Linked DNA regions of Homo sapiens: all the other regions are linked to region 2. Evidence: promoter capture Hi-C in human tissues and cell types (Jung and others, 2019). All regions are on one chromosome and are shown on one strand. Each heading gives the region's core, a stretch centred on a gene start or on the middle of the fragment in contact. The rest is flanking DNA. Distances are from core to core; before and after follow the strand shown.

Evidence for each region. The method cuts DNA at HindIII sites, captures the fragments that hold promoters and counts their contacts. A contact is called where the count stands out against the background at its distance.
Region 1: a contact is called between a fragment that was not itself captured here and the fragment with the promoter of NOL11 in region 2, in 2 of the 25 tissues and cell types used here (dorsolateral prefrontal cortex and hippocampus).
Region 3: the fragment with the promoter of BPTF here is called in contact with the fragment with the promoter of NOL11 in region 2 in 1 of the 25 tissues and cell types used here (stomach).

What each region holds. Positions count from the first base shown.
Region 1 is chr17:67,802,290-67,805,605 of GRCh38, reverse strand. No RefSeq gene overlaps it. Among named protein-coding and RNA genes, the nearest start is that of BPTF, 22 kb to the left of the region's middle. The HindIII fragment of the contact is 6,501 bases long and covers 1-3,316 here.
Region 2 is chr17:67,715,798-67,719,185 of GRCh38, reverse strand. NOL11 (nucleolar protein 11) reads right to left here and starts at 1,250. Exons shown (of 18, transcript NM_015462.5): 1 at 1,098-1,250. The coding sequence starts at 1,238. It overlaps LOC101928045 (a long non-coding RNA gene), which reads left to right and starts at 1,508. Exons shown (of 4, transcript NR_188294.1): 1 at 1,508-1,544. RefSeq lists enhancers at 1-77, 1,000-1,189, 1,260-1,339 and a silencer at 640-729. The HindIII fragment of the contact is 26,229 bases long and covers 1-3,388 here.
Region 3 is chr17:67,823,562-67,826,918 of GRCh38, reverse strand. BPTF (bromodomain PHD finger transcription factor) reads right to left here and starts at 1,416. Exons shown (of 28, transcript NM_182641.4): 1 at 582-1,416. The coding sequence starts at 1,194. RefSeq lists enhancers at 543-812, 775-1,470, 1,471-2,168 and silencers at 863-1,062, 1,243-1,292, 1,493-1,562. The HindIII fragment of the contact is 39,315 bases long and covers 1-3,357 here.

The DNA of each region.
Region 1 (3,316 bases), core at 594-3,093, 86 kb before region 2:
ATATTGAGACCCCTTTTCTACAAAAAATACAAAAATTAGCCAGGCATGGTGGCACGTGCCTGTAGTTCCAGCTACTTAAGAAACTGAGGCAGGAGGATTGCTTGAGCCCGGGAGGCAGAGATTGCAGTGAACCAAGATTGCACCACTGCACTCCAGCCTGGGTGACAGAGCCAAACTTTGTTTCAAAAAAAAAAAAAAAAAATCTAGCCTTGCAGTGGCTCGTGCCTGTAATTCCAACACTTTGGGAGGCTAAGGCAGGAGGATGCCTTGAGCCCAGAGTTTGAGGCTGCAGTGAGCTATGATTATGCCATTGCACTCCAGCTTGGGAGACAGAAAGGGACTTTGTCACAAAACTAAATTAATTAAATAAATTTCTTTTCTTTTTTTTTTTTTTGACAGGGTCTCACTCTGTCACCGTGTCACCCAGGTTGGAGTGCAATGGCTCAATCTCAGCTCACTGTAACCTCCACCTCCCAGGCTCAAGTGATAACTCCTACCTCAGCCTATGAAGTAGCTAGGGACTGCAGGTGCCCACGACCACGCCTGGCTAATGTGTTTTGTTTGTATAGTTTTTGTAGAGATGGGGGTTTTGTCATGTTGCCCAGACTGGTCTGGAACTCCTGGGCTCAAGCGATCCATCCACCTCAGCCTCCCAAAGTGCTGGGATTACAGGTGTGAGCCATCGCACCTGCCCAATTTTTTTCCTTTTACTGTGTCTGTGGTTCCACAACTTCCTTTTTTCCCGTTCTCTATGGACTTTCTACCTAATTTGGACTCTGCTTAGATTGACCTAGTTTTCTTTTTAATCAAATCTTCAGGAACCAATTTATTACCATTAAAAATGATCTAACAAGCTTTATTTTTATCATTGTTTAAAATCCTCATTTTGAGTAACATAACCACAAAGTAAAGAATGTTATCATTGATTTAACCAGTAAAAGACAATACTTAACAATAAAATTTTAAAAACATACGCCAGCCGGCTTACCTGGTGAAAAAAATAATTGCGGCTGCGAGCTGCATTTGCCAGACAATGGTTTTAGATTTGCTGTGCACGCTGAACGCCATGAAAAATGGACTGCCTGGCCTCTTCATAAGGAAATCAATTACTTGCCTCATTCTGAGTGAAAAGAATGAAAGGATTTTAAAAATCATAATAACCAAAATGGGGAGAATAAAACAAACTGGGAAGAGGCATATCATACATTTCAAGCTAGTGTTGCTTTGTTTGAAAGTAAAGTCTTTATGCCTTCAAATATTTAAGGTGATTTTTATTCCTTCATTCTTGACTCCTCTGAAGCTCCTGGGAACACCCCCCCAAAAGCAGCTGCCAGCCTTTACTTCCTTTTTTTTTTTTTTTTTTTTTTGAGATGGAGTCTCCCTCTGTTTCCCAGGCTGGAGTGCAGTGGCGTTATCTTGGCTCCCTGCAAGCTCCGCCTCCCGGGTTCACACCATTCTCCGCCTCAGCCTCCCGAGTAGCTGGGATTACAGGCCGCTGCCACCACGCCCAGCTAATTTTTGTATTTTTAGTAGAGACGGGGTTTCACCGTGTTAGCCAGGATGGTCTTGATCTCCTGACCTCGTGATCCGCCCGCCTCCGCCTCCCAAAGTGCTGGGATTACAGGTGTGAGCCACCACGCAGCTGCCAGCCTTTAACCATGCCCCATGTCATTTTTTTCCCAGCTTGTCAGGACAGTCACTCAAACAGAGTCTCCTCTGATCCTCCCCAGCGCAGGCATCCCATTCAAGAATTTGCAGCCCGGCTCGCCTGGCAGTGGAAAACAAATTTTGTTTCCAGGGGGAAGTTACACATAATCTTTTTTTCTGAACTGGGCTTCCATCATACTTGAGTTACTTCTTTTGGCTCTGGGTGCTCCCTGAGCAGGCCTGGCTAGTAGGAAGTAAAGCAAGCACTGGTTTTTCAAAGCCCCATTTAGTCTTCCTAATGGGTCATTCTCACTGAGCACTATAGGGGCAAAAATATGTTGATTTCCTGATTGACTAAAGCTACCTTGAGTCATTTCAGCCATTTCATTATCTTCTCACCCTCACAAATACCACTTTCTCAGCCAGGAAGCTATAAAGCTGATGATGTCTTAGGAGATTTAGAATTTGATTAAACATTTATTTGCATTGCTCAAAACTGAATTTATAGTAGCTTGATCATAATATGAATGACCTTTTTTTTGTTGTTAGAGGAAGGGAAGACAGTAAATAAAACATACGTTTACATTTGCCAGCTGATGTTGAAGGCATATAGGATTTTCTTTTTCCTAAAAAAAAAGAGGCTGGGGAAAAGCTTCTTTTTCTTTTTCTTTTTTTTTTCTTTTTTTTTTCTGAGACACAGAGTCTTGATCTGTTGCCCAGGCTGGAATGCAGTGGCATGGTCTCAGCTCACTGCAACCTCTGCCTCCCGAGTAGCTGGGATTACAGTTGCCCACCACCATGCAGGGCTATTTTTGTATTTTTAGTAGAGGTGGGGTTTTACCATGTTGGCCAGGCTGGTCTCAAACTCCTGACCTCAAGTGATCTGCCTGCCTTGGCCTCCAAAGTGCTAGGGTGAGCTACCTTGCCTGGCCTTTTTTTTTTTTTTTTTTGAAACAGGGTCTCACTCTGCTCTGTTGCCTAGGCTGGAGTGCAGTGGCATGATCTCAGCTCACAGTAGCCTTGACCTCCTGGGCTCAAGTGATCCTCCCACTTCAGCCTCCAGGTAGCTGGGACTACAGGCACTTGCCACCATGCTAAGCATTTTTTTTTTTTTTTTGGATAGAGACGGGGTCTCACTATGTGCCCTGGCTGGTCTGGAACTCCTGGGCTCAAGCGATCCTCCTGCCTCAACCCCTCAAAGTGCTGGGATTATAGGCGTAAGCAAATGCACCCAGCCTGGGGTAAAGCTTCTTTTGCCTTGGCTGGGATCTATGGATTGTGTGGTGGTTAACTTTAGGTGTCAACTTGAATGGATTAAAGAATATCTAGAAACCTGGTAAAGCATTATTTATCCAATCTCCTAGGGTCCCGGAGAGAACAAAAACAGAGAGGTAACTATGTCAAGCTATCTGCTGGAGCTGGGACACATTCTTCCTCTCCTGTCCTTGGACAACAACTCCAGGCTCCCCAGCCTTCAAACTCCAGGACTTCTCCCCTCTCCTCCACCCTTCCTGGCTTCTCAGGCCTTTGGCCTTGAACTGAGAGCTACACCATCAGATTCCCTGATTCTGAGGCCTTCGGGACTTGAATTGAGCCATACTACCAGCCTCCCAGGGTCTCCAGTCTGCAGACGACCTGTTTTGGGACTTCTTGCCAATTTCCCTAATAA
Region 2 (3,388 bases), core at 1-2,500:
CTCAAGTGATCCACCCACCTGGGCCTCCCGAAGTTCTGGGATTACAGGCGTGAACCACCGCGTCCGGCCAAACCTCTAAAAGGGTAGTTAAAATGAAAATATAACTAAGTTCCTAAATAAGTAAATAAGCAACCCTTTGTTAAAAAAACAATAGTACATTTAAAAATTGATTATATTATGCCTCTGCATGGGAAGTTATGCCTCTGAACAGCGGCATGGGAAATTAAGTAGGGACATCTGGGATCATGTCTATCCAATTCCAATCTGCCATTGTATTCCTATGCAGGAGCTGCAAAACTGCAAATCTACTTGACATCCCAAGTGAAACCCAATAGAGTTAGCAGAGTCAAAACGGCACAGGGAGCTGTTAGCAACCTGTTCTCAAAACGTCAAAGCAGATACCTAACTTCTTTAAAACATGGAAAACTATGTTCAGCAGCCCAGAGAAAAGTAACTGCTTTCTATGCGACCACCAAAAGCAAGGTTAGAAAGTGTTCTCTATCAGGCTTTAGGCTGAAATGGGGGCAGGGCTTGCAGATTTTCCCAGGACTCAACTCCAGGATTCCCAGCGTGAATCAGAGATGCCAACAGACAACTCACTTGGAGGCAAGATTCTTAGCGAGCTATCAAGAAAGTCCCTCACTCTCTAAAATTGTCCCCGCCCCTACAAAGAGAGGGGTGTGAAGTGTAGACACGGCTAAACCACTATTCCCACTCTGTCAGTGTCATCCTCTCCCGCCCAACCAATCTCCGTTCCATCCTCCCGCGGGCGGCTAAGATAATAAAGACCCTAGGAGGGAATCTTAGCAAGGCCAATTCCGCGAGTTCCGAAGCAAAAGCACAGGTTTTCTTTCTTTTCCGAGTCTAACCCACGTGCACTCAGACGCTCTGCCCCTGCAAGTCGGAAATATGCCTTTACAGGAAGGCAAGCAAGCCAGATTCCAGACCTCACTCAGCGTCCCCAACAGGCCCAGCCGGCTCTCTGCTAAGCCTTCTCCACGATCTCTTTCTGAAGCTGTGAGAAACTTGAGCTCGAGCTCCGCGCTCAGAAAGGGGCGAGAAGGCAGTCGGGGCGCTCCCAAACCTATTGCCTTCACCTTATAGAGGATGACTGTCCTGCCGCTGTCTGTCACTAGAAACTGGTCTGTTTTGTCGCTCTGCTCCACGCCTAGGAGTCCTTCAGGCCCGGCGCTCAGGACTACCGAAGACAACGTGAATTCTTCCTCCAGCGCTGCCATTTTGAGCAAACCTAAGTACGGCCGCGCTCACTCCCGGCAGGCCTCGCGCTTTCTCTCGCGAGAATGAACGGGCCTGAGGGGGCGAGTGCTTGCCAAACCAGGAACCTGCTCTCGCAGCCTGCGACCTCTGGCGGGCGGAAGGAGCGAGCGCGACTGTGAATTTAGCCAGGTGGGCTGGGCCGGCTTGCGTCAGACTCCGCCTCCCGAGACCACGCCTCGCCGAGTCCCGGATGTGCTCCAGGAAGGGATAGGGTAGGCGCGGAAGTGCTGCTTACTGGGTCCTGAATCGGCTGCGTGCTGTTCTAGGTGGGGACTTGAGAGACTGTAGATGGGTCTAGGGAGTGGTCGAATATAAATAAGCTAGATTTTTTTTTTTTTAATTGCAAGGGAACTCCCTAGGAATTCCATCCATGGCCTTGTGGAACGATCTGCCAAAGAAAAAATATTTATCTCTGTAGGTAAACTCCCAATAACGTGCTGTTCCTACGTGAAATGCTTAATTCCCCCCAAGTTTCTTGGAACCCTCTAGAGATCTCCAGTCTTTTCAGTCTTTCAGGCCTTCTGAGTTCTCTGACTCCCCTTCTCTGAGCCCCAGTGGGGAAAATCTCTCCTCAGCTTACAGGAAATTCAGACTAGTTTGATGAAGGTGAAGTTGAAGGTCCCCTGTGTGATTTTTGGCAAGGTTTTTATTTCCGGGAGAAATGTATGTTTCTCAGATAAGCATGGCAGATTCAATCAATAATGTTAAATAAATAAGTAAAGATAAATTGTGATGTTCTTAGGGAGAAACCATTTAATAGGCAATTACTAAACAAATGTACCCAGTGTGACAAAGTGCCTCAGTTTAGATTTAAGCATCCACCAGATCGCCATGTGTGTTGTTTCTCATTGCCCCAACATGACGACATGGGCAAAAGGAGAATATCCAGCTACTGTGAAGGAATCAAATGCAGTCTATTTTTATAATGCTAATAGGTCTTTTGTTGTTCAAAAGTAGTGGCATTATCATGGCTCACTGCAGCCTCTAACTCTTGGGCTAAATAAAGCAATCCTCCTGCTTCAGCCTCCCGAATAACTGGGACTACAGGCATCCATCACCACGCCCGGCTAATTTTTGTATTTTTTGCAGACATGGAGTCTTGCTTTGTTGCCCAAGGTGATCTTGAACTCTGATAATCTTTTAATTTTTAGGCTGGGTTGTGAGATCAAGAGGATATAGTTTATTATTATGCTTCATAACTTACTTTGTGATAGGTGGTAAGAAGAAAAACATTAAACTCAGAAGGGAGAGATAAAGCGTGGGTGTGTGGGGGAGGAAGGAGTGGTCTGTGTATGTGAAATTTTCACTAGGATGACCACAGGCCTCCTTGAGAGGATGTCTTTTTTTTTTTTTTTTTTTTTTTGAGACAGGGTCTTGCTCTGTCGCCCAGGCTGGAGTGACGCAGTCTCAACTCACTGCAATCTCTGCTTCCCGGATTTAAGCTATCCTCCCACCTCAGCCTCCCGAGTACCTGGGACTACAGACATGCACCACCATGCCCGGCTAATTTTTGTATTTTTTGTAAAGATGGGGTTTCACCGTATTGCCCAAGCTGACCTTGAATTCCTGGGCTGAAATGACCCTCCCCCCTTGGCCTCCTAGAGTGCTGGGATTACAGAGCCACAGTGCCTGGCCCAAGGGTATCTTTTGAGGATGGCATGAAGGAGGGGAGGGAGCGATCATGCAGTTAACTAGGGGAGGGAGCGATCATGCAGTTAACTAAGAGCATTCTCAGTAGCAAGTGCGCCTGGGGCACCAACAGGGAGATTCCCTAGAAGTCTATCGCAGTTATTGTAGTTACCAGGTGAGAGGTGATGAGGGCACCATCAGTAGCAAGGCTTTTCTTTCTTTCTTTCTTTTTTCTTTTTTGAGGCGGAGTCTTGCACTGTAGCCCAGGCTGGAGTGCAGTGGCGCAATCTCGGCTCACTGCAAGCTCTGCGCCCCGGGTTCACGCCATTCCCCTGCCTCAGCCTCCTGAGCTGGGACTACAGGCGCCCGCCACCATGCCCGGCTGACTTGTTTGTATTTTTAGTAGAGACAGGGTTTCACCTTGTTAGCCAGGATGGTCTCGATCCCCTGACCTCGTGATTCGCCCGCCTCGGCCTCCCAA
Region 3 (3,357 bases), core at 167-2,666, 110 kb before region 2:
TACTAACCCAAATGATCCGTTTCCTTAACACAATTTTAAAACCACAGCTAGGGGTGTGAAAACGCATTTTTTTGTGCGTGTTTGTGTACCACAATCTGTCCAAATCCTTAATTCCCTTTTAAGTAACAGATATATAATAAAAATCCGAAAGAAACCACATTAGAAATGCAAAGAGGTTTGCAAAACAAGAGGCTTCTTTCATTCCAGAAAACCACACCAAAACAAGGGGAGAAAAATGAATGCAATGGATATGTGTTTGCCAAAGTTTCAATCCTGCCCGGTGGAGACACTGCACTGGCACAAATTTTGAAGAGGAAAAAAAGGGGGTTGGGGGGGGGAGAGAGAGCGAGCGAGTGTGGCCTGCAAACTGCAACAATGCAATCTCCATTTTGAACAATGCGCCTCTTTCCTCTTGTAAATCTAGTTTTTTGCCACTTGATGTGCCGTCGCATTTCCCCTCTGTTTGGGGGGGAGGCGGGGTTGGGGGGAGATCGGAGCAGGATGCACAGCACACGAGTGAGCAAGGGGGGAGGGCAGAGGAGGTGGGGAAGGAGTCTGCAGCAACTGGGCTGGGTGGGTACCTGGAGTGCTGCTGTAGGTACTATGGCTCCTGAAGCTGCTTTCCGTGCAGTAACTGGCGTCGTCGTCGTCGTCTTCCATCTCCTCCGGATAATCGGAGTCATCGTCGTCCTCTTCCATCTCATCCTCCTCGTCGTCCTCAGAATCCTGGGTCTCCTCGGCGTCGCCGTCCTCCTCCTCCTCCTCCTCGGAGACCATGTCCTCCTCTTCCTCCTCCTCCTCGCTCTCGTGGTCATCGTACACCACTTTGTTGACGGCCCTCCGGGCCGCGGTGGTCCGGGCCAGGTGGCCGCCGCCGCCCCCGCCCCCCGTCCTGCCGCCCCCGCCTCCTCGCCCCCCCCGGCCCGGGGCGCTGGTGCTGGGGGGGGCCGGCGGCGGCGGCGGCGGCTTCCTCCGGCTACTGCTGCCCCCCCTGGGCGAGCTCAGCCGCGTCTTGGGCGCCACCTCAGCCTGGGCGGCGGCCCACCTGCCCCGGCTGCTGCCGCGGTGCCGCGAGCGGAGCCCCCCGATGGGTCCGGACGTGGGCGGCGGCGGCGGTGGCGGCGGGGCCGGGGCGCAGCGCTCCGCAGCGGGAGCCGCGGGCTGCTTGGGCGGCCTGCCCCGCCGGCCCCTCATGTCGGAGCCGAGGCGGGGGGAGAAGGAAAGCGAAGGGGGAGGGGCGGGCGCAGGGGGGGCGGTGGGGAGCGCCGGGGCCGGGTGGGGAGGCCCGCGGGGCCGGGCGGGAGGGGCCCGGCCGACGGAAGCGGGTGGAGGGAGAAGGCTCAATCCGAATTGCTGGGGCCCCACTCCGGATCGCCTTCAGCCGCCATCTTGTTTCTTCCCTCTCGCTCGGTGACTGGGGGAACCGACAGCGGCCGCAGGCCCAGAGCGCGGTCACGTGAGCTGCGCCGCCGACGAGCCTGGGACGGAGCGAAGCGGCGCGGCGGCCGCTAGGGGGAGCGCGGGAGCGTCGAGTCGGGGGCGGGGAGCCCTGGGCGCCTGGGCTCGGCACAGCGCGGTGCGGCTGGACTCCGGGCGCGGGTGGCGCGGCAAAACTCCGGGCGCAGGTGGCGCGGCTGAGAGGGGCGCGCAGCTCGCGAAATGCCCGGCGTCAAAGGCCTTCGGAGACCAAAGTCTCCGCGGACCGCTGGCTGGAGCCCAAAGCCGGCCGGACCTCCTCCCCGCGTCTCCCCTTTCGCGGCTCGGAGAGGAAGGCAAGGGAGCCCCCAAATATCATTCCCTTCCCTCCCCCTATGGAAACTGATGCTGAAAGAGCCAGCGAGAGAAAGAAAAAAAAAAGTCGCGGAGAGGGGCGGCCCAAGCGACCGAGGGCACCGGGCAGCGCCAGCGACAGAGGGAAATTAGTCGAGGGGACAGAGAGACAAGCCCCCTGAACTTAGGAAACTCTGAAGCATGGAGCTGGAGTCCAGAAAATGACTCCAATGACAACTGCTCCGGATCTGTGCCAGGAGCCACGCCCCGGGCTGCCACGCCCGGAGGGAGGGGCGCCCTAAGACCTGTAGCGTGGAATCCGCACTGGGAAAGCCTCAGTAAACTCCAGAACGCAACTACTGCACGTTCCAATGTCCCGCCACCTTCCCAGTGCCCCAGCTAGGACTTCGATCACCTCAGCAAGAACTTACCTCTCCTTTGCAGTGGAAAAGAGGGAATCCTGCCTAAAACCTACTTCACGGTGTTAAATGTTTGTATTATCGGGAAATAACCTTAATTTATTGACCTGACAAGTCACTAGGTTTCAGCTTAGCCCAAAGGACGAATCATGATGACATTTCAGGCACCCTCAAACCTTATCACAGCGACTCAACCCTGAGTGGTTGAGGTCAGCTCTTTAGATAAGAGAAAGGTGTTATAAACATATGAATATTTATTGAGAGAAGTGACAACCGAAAAGTAATTTAAAGAAAAATAGTTGGCCGGGCGTGGTAGCTCACACCTGCAATCCCAGTCCTTTGAGAGGCCAAGGCCGGATGATAGCTTGAGGTCAAGAGTTCAAGACCAGCCTGGGCAACATAGCAGGACCTCGTCTTTAGAAAAAATTTGAAAAATTAGCCGGGCATGGTGGTGTGCACCTGTGGTCCCAGCTAGCGAGAGGCTGAGGTGGGAGGATTGCTTGAGCCTGGGAGGTGGATGTTGCAGTGAGCCGTGATTGCACCACTGCACTCCAGCTTGGGTGACAGAGCAAGACCCTGTCTCAATTTTTTTTAAAAAAGATGCTGGGCGCGGTGGCTCACGCCTGTAATCCCAGCACTTTGGGAGGCTGAGGAGGGCGGATCACCAGGGCAGGAGTTTGAGACCAGCCTGGCCAATATGGTGAAACCCCATCTCTACTAAAAATGCAAAAGTTCTGTACTAAAAATACAAAAGTTAGCCAGGCGTGGTGGTGCGTGCCTGTAGTCCCAGCTACTCCAGAGGCTGAGGCAGAAGAATCGCTTGAGCCTGGGAGGTGGAGGTTGCAGTGAGCCGAGATCGCACCACTGCACTCCAGCCTGGCAACAAAGCAAGACTCCGTCTCAAAAAAATAAAAATAAAAATATCTAACAGAATTCTGCATACCAAATGGCTTATTTCAGTCTTGTTAGGAAAATGGAACACATATGTGAAATGAAAATTAAAATACAAGCACTAATTGCCAGAGAAATGCATTCAATACAATTTGGTCGAGCTCTAAGGGTGACAAATGTGTATATGTCTCCAGGGACCAGGTAAGTAATGTAAGTCAATAAAGTAGGCAAGATGAAGACCTAGGCCAATGGAGGTGCCCATATTTTGTTTGAAGAG